Linked DNA regions of Homo sapiens: region 2 is linked to region 1. Evidence: promoter capture Hi-C in 16 types of primary human blood cells and fetal thymus (Javierre and others, 2016). All regions are on one chromosome and are shown on one strand. Each heading gives the region's core, a stretch centred on a gene start or on the middle of the fragment in contact. The rest is flanking DNA. Distances are from core to core; before and after follow the strand shown. Region 1 holds the start of ZNF862 (zinc finger protein 862). Region 2 holds the start of LOC105375567 (a long non-coding RNA gene).

Evidence for each region. The method cuts DNA at HindIII sites, captures the fragments that hold promoters and counts their contacts. A CHiCAGO score of 5 or more calls a contact.
Region 2: a fragment that was not itself captured here is called in contact with the fragment with the promoter of ZNF862 in region 1 in 2 of 17 cell types (activated CD4 T cells and naive CD8 T cells); the score reaches 6.4 in activated CD4 T cells.

The regions. Positions count from the first base shown.
Region 1 is chr7:149,836,579-149,840,787 of GRCh38, forward strand. It overlaps ZNF862 (zinc finger protein 862), which reads left to right and starts at 1,797. Exons shown (of 8, transcript NM_001099220.3): 1 at 1,797-2,057. The coding sequence starts at 2,034. RefSeq lists a silencer at 1,873-2,332. The HindIII fragment of the contact is 19,921 bases long and covers 1-3,597 here.
Region 2 is chr7:150,876,029-150,880,237 of GRCh38, forward strand. LOC105375567 (a long non-coding RNA gene) reads right to left here and starts at 1,102. Exons shown (of 5, transcript XR_928171.3): 1 at 981-1,102. The HindIII fragment of the contact is 2,523 bases long and covers 354-2,876 here.

The DNA of each region.
Region 1 (4,209 bases), core at 547-3,046:
GACTTGGTTCCTTGCACTATCCCCCTTTGAATCATCAGTTTCCTTCCCATCAACACAGAAACAAGATCTTGTGACTCATATCTTAGTCCTACTGCTTTGATTCCCCATTTCCCCCTAGATACTGCTCCATTTTTCTTGGAAAGATGGAAAACCTTTTATGGAAAAATGTGTCAAAAGAATGATTTACCCTAGCTGTCCTCCAGTTTTTTAACCCCTAAAAGAGAATCTGTTATAAAGACATGGATAACTCATGGGCAGAAATATAGCTCTTCAAGGTAGTGATATAGTCGAGGTGGTGAGTGGCAGGCCACTTGGAATCCACAGAGTCCTCACTCTCTGCCTTCTCCTCCACATTTCTTGTGTCTCATTCTTTTTTTCAGTAATGCAGACTCCCCTACACTCCTCGAACGGAATTTAGGTCTATTCAACCTTGGCCAGAAGAGCAGAGCTGGATAATGGAAAACGCTTACTTGAAGCCTGTGTAACATGGTGAAACCCTGTCTCTACTAAAAATACAAAAAAATTAGTTGACCATTGTCTTAATCTCTATGTGCTTCTGTAACAAAATCCCTGGAACTAGGTAATTTATAAATTATGGATACTTATTTCTTATGATTCTGGAGGCTGGGAAATCCAAGATCAAAGCACCAGCAGTGTCTGTGTCTGGTGAGAGCCTGGTCTCTGCTTCCAGGAGGGCACCTTTTTGCTCTGTCCTCACATGGCAGAAGGCAGAGGGGCAGAAGGGCAAAGGGCCTAGCTAGTTCCCCCAGCACGCATGTGGTCACTAACACCTTCATGAAGGCACATCCCTGCCCTGGCCCCCTAAAAGTCTTTTTTTTTTTTGAGACATGGTCTTGCTCTGTCACCCAGGCTGGAGTGCAGAAGCGCCATCCCGGCTTACTGCAGCCTCGACCACCCAGGCTCAAGTGATCCTTCCACCTCACAAAATTATTTTATTTTTATAGAGATGGGATCTCTCACTGTGTTGCACAGGCTGGTCTCAAACTACTGGGCTCAAGTGATCCTCCTGTCTCAGCCTCCCAAAGAGTTGGGATTAGAGGTGTGAGCCACCGCACTTGGACAAAACTTCTTATAAGGACACTAATCCCACCATAAGGGCCTGACCCTCACGACTTCATCTAAACCTCCCAAACGCCCCATCTCCTGGGAGGGGAACACCGGTCAGTCCATTGCACCTCCTTTACCTGGCAGACCCTACCTCTTGCTTTAATTCTGCTGAGGCATCACTTCCGCAGGAAATCCTTGACTAAGCACCTCATATCCCCCACCGCTTCACTCTAAGGTGACAACGCGGGCTTTAATTCATGTTTTGTGCTTACCTCTTTCATAGCCCTTGTCTCTGTTTTGTAATTATCTGTTTCTGGTCTGATTCCCTAATAGATCGTGAGTTCCTTGAAGGCAAGGCCTTTGTCTCATTCAACTGTGTTCTCCCAAACCCTAGAACACGGCCTGACCCATGGTAGGCAACCAATGATACTTTTTGAGTGAATAGAACAAAAAGTATTGCCCTCCTTAATAAAAGAAAACCTAGAACTTCAAGGCTGACATTGGCCTTCGCGTAGCCCAATCAGAGCGCTTTGCCCTTGCTGCAGAGGACTAAAGGACGCCACGCCGCCGTTGCCTAGTAACTGTCGCCGGAGGGAGGCGGGGAGGGTCGCAAGCGCGCCGCCGGCGTCCAATCAGGACCTGCGTTCCGGGAGCCAATAGCAGCTTCGAGAGCCGCTCACCTAGAGCGGACTACACTTCCCGTCACGCCCCGCCGCCTGGGGCTGGGCAGTGACCGTAAAGCTGTTCGCTCGGTGCGACGCAAGTCTCAGCTCAGCGCGCTTATCCTGGGTCCACCGGCGCTACCGCCCCCCGACGTGAGAGAGCGAAGTTCTTGGGCCGCGCTCCCTCCCTACCTGGGTGCCCTCCCCCTCCGGGAGCCTGGGTCCCCGGGGCGGTCGCGGCGGCTGCATCCTCAGGCCAGGCCGCGGGGGGAGGGGGCGGCACGGGCCTCCGAAAGCGGGGCCATGGAGCCCAGAGAGTCGGGGAAGGTAGGACTGGAAGGCCCGGGGGCCGCCCGCTCCCTCCCGAGGATCCCCGAGCCGGGCTCGGGCGAGGCGGGGCGGCTCGGGCGGAGGCCCCGCAGATGAGCCAGGCTTGCAGGGAAGGACTCGCCGGCCCGCCCTCTCTTCCCGCACTTCGGCGCCCGACCCCGGGAGGGTGGCGGAGAGGAGCGGACGCTTCCGTTCGGTGTCCGCGCATCCTCCCCGAGCTGCCGAGCGTCCGCTGGGTCGATGCTGGGTTGGGTGACCCCCGAGTGGAGCGATGCGAAGGTGCTTCCTGTTTTCCCCACCACCTTCGGCGTTTTGAAGAGGCCCTGCTAAGGCTTGGAGTCTGGATCGGACGCCAGTGGGAGCTGCAGGGTGGGACGCTTGAGGGCTTGACCCTGCCTAGATCCTCCTTACCAAGAAAGGGCTGAAAAGAGAGGGCATCTGGCATGCTTTTTGCCACTTCTGTTTCTAGGTTATGTACTTCATGGAATATCTGGGCATTGCTTAGAAACCTGTGTCATAAATTGGCTTTGGGCAAGAGGCTTTGAGTTGGAAGAAAAGGTGGAAAGAAAGTGCTTGGGGGCGGAGTTCAGGGATTTGACGGGATTGCCAGCGCTTCCAGGCCGTGTCATCCAAGACCAGTGTGGTTGTGGGCACATTAGCTTGGAGACAGTGGCAGCCTCTTGGGACTAACATCTTTCTGGATGTTGTTTGCTGCCAGTTCTTGAGTATTGTTTCTTATTTGGCACAGAGGAGAATTCTCTCAACAAACGTTTTCGACTGTTTATTGAGTCCCTTAAAAAACTGTCCATTTAATAAACATTTGTGATCTGTGATTTGCATTGAACGAGATGCTGGAAGTATGAGGATAAATAGGAAATGATCACCTTTCTCAAGGAGCTCTCCTGCAGTTTTCACTTCAATAACTTGGACACGCCTGAAAGGGTTGTCCCACACGAAAAGAGAGAAAAGGATAATGAGGTTCTTTTGATGCTGTAGTTTTTCCTGGGAAGACTAGGAAGGACTCTGAATTTCAAAAGAGGTGATTTCTCGCATGAGCATCTCTTCCATCCTCCCTCCCTCCACAAGCTACAGTGATGCATGTAGCAGACACGGCACCTACAGAGTACGTGGTCCAAGCCAATAAAGCTCAACAAAACCCAAGCAAAGATGGAGCTTATGGCCCTTACCCTTTGGAAATATCCCCAGATTGGTTTAGATTGAACCTGAATTTGAATAAAGAGAAGCAAAATGTAGGGGGAAGAAGGATTATAAAATATTGGGATTGATATTGGTATCAGTGATTTGAAGTTGATTTCCAAGCTATTCTGTTCAGTCAGAGGCTTTCTTAGCCTTTAACGGGAGAAGAGAAATACGGTCATGCGCTGTATAACAAGGTTTCCATCAACACCGCTCTCACGTACAATCCCCTGAGACTACAGTGGGGCTGAGAAATTCCTATCACCTGGTGACATCTTCATGATCCTGACCCTGTGTAGGCTTAGGCTAATGTGTGTGTTTGTGTCTTAGGTTTTAAGAAAGCTTAAAAAGTAAAAAAAAAAAAAAAAAAAAAAAAAAAAAAAATTTAAAAATACAAAACCTCATAGAATTAGAATATAAAGAAAAATACTTTTTGTTGATGGAATGGTTTGCTGGAAAATAAAAATACAAAAATATTTAAAGAAAAATATTGTACAGGTGTACAATGTGTGTTAAGCTAAGTGTTATTACAAAAGAGTCAAAAGTTTAAAAAATTAAGTTTATAAAGTAAAACAGTTACAATAAGCTAGGGTTAATTTATTATTGAAGAAAGAAAAATTTTTGATAAATTCGGCGTAGCCTTAGTGTGCAGTGTTTATAAAGTCTACAGAAGTGTTCAGTCATGTCCTAGGCCTTCACATTCTCTCACCACTCACTCACTCACTCACTCACTCACCCAGAGCAACTTCCAGTCCTGCAAGCTCCATTCATGGTAAGTGCCCAATACAGATGGACCTTTTTTTTTTTTTTGTCTTTTCTACCATATTCTTACTGTACCTTTTCTATGTTTAGATACGCAAATACTTACCATGTGTTACAGTGGCCTACAGTTTTCAGTACAGTAACATACTGTGTAGGATTGTAGCCTAGGGGGCAAAAGGCTATATACCAT
Region 2 (4,209 bases), core at 365-2,864, 1.0 Mb after region 1:
TGGCAGCTTCAGTGTCTGGGGAGGGCCTGCTTCCTGGTGCATGGACTGGCCATCTTCCCACTGCGTCCTCACATGGTGGAAGGGACAAGAGAGTTTTCTGCGGTCTTTTTTTTTTTTTATAAGGGCATTAATCTCATTTGTGAGGGCACTGCCCTTGTGACCTAATCACCTTCCAAAGGCCCCATCTCCTAATGCTACCACTATGGAGATTAAGATTTCAACACATGAATTTGAGGGAGACATACTCAGTCCATTGCAAGATGTCACCATTAGAGAAATCCAGTTGAAGGTTCACAGAACTCCGTACTCTTTTTGCTACCTCTTGTGAGTTTATAATTACGCCAAAACTAAAAAGCTTTCTTAAAAATATATATACAAATTCTCAAGTAAAATATAGTAAACTTGTTACTTTTTCAGGTATTTGATGCCTTTATCTGTAAATTCTTTCAAAGGAAATATGGCATGAACAAATATTGAGACAGGGATGTTTCACCAACTCTCAACTCCCCTTATTCAAGGGTTGGATCATAATAACTACATCTAAGTAATCCAGAAATTATCATTTTACTGAAAACCACGAAGACTATGTAGATGGAGAGAGATGAAAGAAGTACTATTTTTAAATCTGCAGCTTTATATCAATATACATAAATACATACCAGATAACCATATTTTATAAGAATACATATATATTCAAGGGTATATGTCAAATTTTAAAAAGAAAGGGGATTTGGCGTGGTCCTATCATTATGAAAGGGGATTCGGCGTGTTCCTGTCCTTATTTTACTCATCATGTCATCCCCTATCGTCTACCAGGCGTCCAGGCGCTGAGGACCAACCTTCTCTTCCTCCTCTGGCTAAGAAAACAATCAGCTTTCCCAGAGCCACCGCTGTCTGGACGCTAGATGGCGCCGCTGAGCTCCCCCCACCCCCCGCCTTTCCCCCACCCCCCCGCCTCCTCCCCACCACCCCGCCCACACCTGCGGTTCCTGCAGAGGGGTTGCTCAGGTGACCGGGCCGTTTGGACCACTTGGTTCAAATTCAGGATCCAGGTAGATGCAGCTGGGGAAAGCAGGGAGGAATGGGAGGCTACAGACAGAATGACCACATGCGTGCCTTCCTGCAGGGCTTGTCTTCTCCAAAGCCCCTGGTCAGTCACATGTTTTACTTGGCTCCCTTCCTTCTTCCTCGCCTTCTCCAGACCCTCTAAGCATGTGCCTTTGTCTCTTCCCAAACCTCCTGAGTCGCCTGAGGCCCTCTGGTGGTTCAATTCTTTATTGGAAGAACAAGCAACATGTTTACCCCAAGGGTTTCCACGGAGAAATACAAACACGTCTATTATTGGCAAGAAAAGCAGCACTGATTTGTTGAAGAACTAGGGAATTGTTCTAATTCTGCAGATTAGTCTCTTCTTGTCTTTGGTTGAAGTAACACAACCATCTCCATAGAGGTTCCTAAGCATAGAGGAAGATTGTATTGTAACAATACAAGGCTGCCGTAACTATGTAATTGGCCATAATTGAAGACAAGAATGGTGGGAAGTATGGGTTTGCAATTACCTAATATTCCTGTCCTAACCCATTTCAGGAGATCTTGCTGCGAGGTGCATGTTACCCATATAACAGACCCTGGGAGTATACCCAGGAGCAGTGGTGCGGATCACAGAAGGGGCTTTAAGACGCCCCTGGTGTTCTATGGCCATTAGCTACCAGTAGGAGCAGCTGCACCCCTGGCTGACCACAGATGTGGCTGTCAAACACAGTGAGTTAACAAAGGACAGTGAAACAGGGGGACGTGCAAGTCAGAGGAGATGCCTGCTTCCTCCTAGATCCCCACCATTTTCCTGGCTTTCTACTCTATTCCCAAAAAGAAGACACACTGGGGTAGAGGGCTGAGGGGAATAATTCAGTCCACAGATGCAGTTTTCTCTCTTTTTGCTACCATGGTTCTGAATGAAGAGCTAATATTATACTATTCCCACCTGTGATGAGCCCCAGTCCTTTTGATTCTTTTTCTTCTTCATCATCCATCCAAACGTCCCCAAGTGGTAAACAGGCCAGCAAACCTGTTATCCTCTCTTCTGTCCCTTCCACACATGTTTTAGCTTTAGTGGAAGCTCACAGAATAACCCTCAATTATCTGTTGTGGTCTGTGGCATTACCTTCTTAAAGGAAAGCTGATGGGTTCTTTCAACAGGTTTGGGGTCCACTCCCAGCTAACAATTAGTGTGACCTTAGCCGAGCACAGTGTCTCACGCCTGTTATCCCAGCACTTTGGGAGGCCGAGGCGGGTGGATCACGAGGTCGGAGATCAAGACCATCCTGGCTAACATGGTGAAACCCCATCTCCACGAAAAATAGAAAAGAAAATTAGCTGGGCGTGGTGGCGGGCGCCTGTAGTCCCAGCAACTCATGAGGCTGAGGCAGGAGAATGGTGTGAATCAGGGAGGCTGAGCTTGCAGTGAGCCGACATCGCGCCACTGCAGTCCAGCCTGGGTGACAGAGCAAGACTCCATCTCAAAAAAAATTGTGTGACCTTGTTTTCCTTTACCATTGTTTCTAGTTGCCCAGGAATCTAGTGGGAAGATGTGGCTATGGTCTGGGGCAGGATATTTTGGGAAGCCTGGTGTCCAGGGATATTAGGCAAACAAACTTTTGCATTGCACTTAATATTTCAGAAACCCAGCTGAATAGCTCTTATTTTTATGGCACTAAGAAAGTAAATCTTAAATCTTTGCTCTTAACACCATTAAGACAAAATTATTATGAAAATTGGACAAAGTGCCTTATAGCAGCTGATATATTTAAAACATCAATGATTGTACCCTTAGCATTGTTTTATTTTTATTTTTTAAAATTATCTAAACATTGTTTCAAAGCTTGTGAAACTACTAAAAGACAAAGGATTGTAAATGTCAATGAAAGGAAAAGTAAAACAGCAAGTATTTTAGCATACGGGGGCAATCAAGTCATAAAGAAAAAGGGTTAGTAGCTCACTAGACAATAAATTATTATAAAGAAGAGCCAAGAAAAGTATTGCTTTGAAACTTTTTACTTTTAACCTTCAGCCTTACTGAAGAATTTGTTCACTATACTTTAAAAATTTATTATTCTGATCATATTTTCCTTGATTTAAGAGTAGTGTCTTCAACATTAGCTGATATACCTACTAATAGCATCCCACGTCCTACCATCATTTCTTACATCTGACATCTTCTGCTGTTGATCCATAGGTTAACAAAACAAAACAGAAACTACACACAGAAAGAAAAAGAAAGGGAAGAAAGAAAAAAGAAGGAAGAGAAAAAAGCAGAGACCACTTCCAGAATGATTGTATGAGGAGCTCTGCAGACCTGCTCCCCAGCAAAACACTTATATCTAGTTAAATGATTTTTAAGCATTTAAAGTCTCTGGAAATTGTTCCCAATAAGAACAATGAGAATCTATGACACTTGAGCCATGACTCACTTCCTCTCTCCTCCATCCCCCCAACTCACTTAACAGAAGCTCCACTCTTCATGGACTTAGCCAGGAAAACACAGCTCCCTCTCCATCCAGCTCCCAGTCAAGCAATACAATGGCTCCCCAGAAGAGGCAGGCCACCAGAATTCCTCAGCCCCCATTTTGCACAGGCTAAATTGTAGATGAGTGCAGCTGAGAGAATGGAAGCTTCTCTCCTCCACCCAGTCCCCACTCATAGGTGGAGACTACCCCAGGTGATGCAGGCTGAAATTACTGAAGCCCCAATTGCGTTTGGATCAGAGGTTCCATGCTACAACAGCAACCTGAGAAGACAAGAGGCTACTGCCACCACGCAGAGCCCTGCTCTGTAAAGCAGGAGGGCTCTGAGAGAAGCCAGCCACAGCCCCTACCCCCAGGTCTTGAGCAGTGACTCAAAGATTTTGCCCAAAGGAAGAGGTAGATCATAAGAACAGAGAGCACTGAAGCTCTCCCCCGACCCCCCAAGAAACTAACTTGATTTAAAACAGGATGTAGAGAAGTTCAAGCATAAGGGAACTCGCAAAAACAATGGAGATTTTGGTGGTAAACAATAAAGATAATGGGATAAACTATATGCCAGCCAGTTTACCAGAGAAAACAAAACAAATAGCTAAGAAGAGTCCTTCCACTGTCTGAACAAACCCCAAAGACTGGACTCAAAACAATCCTACAAAGGGACCCAAATTTATCTGGATCATACTGTGAAGCA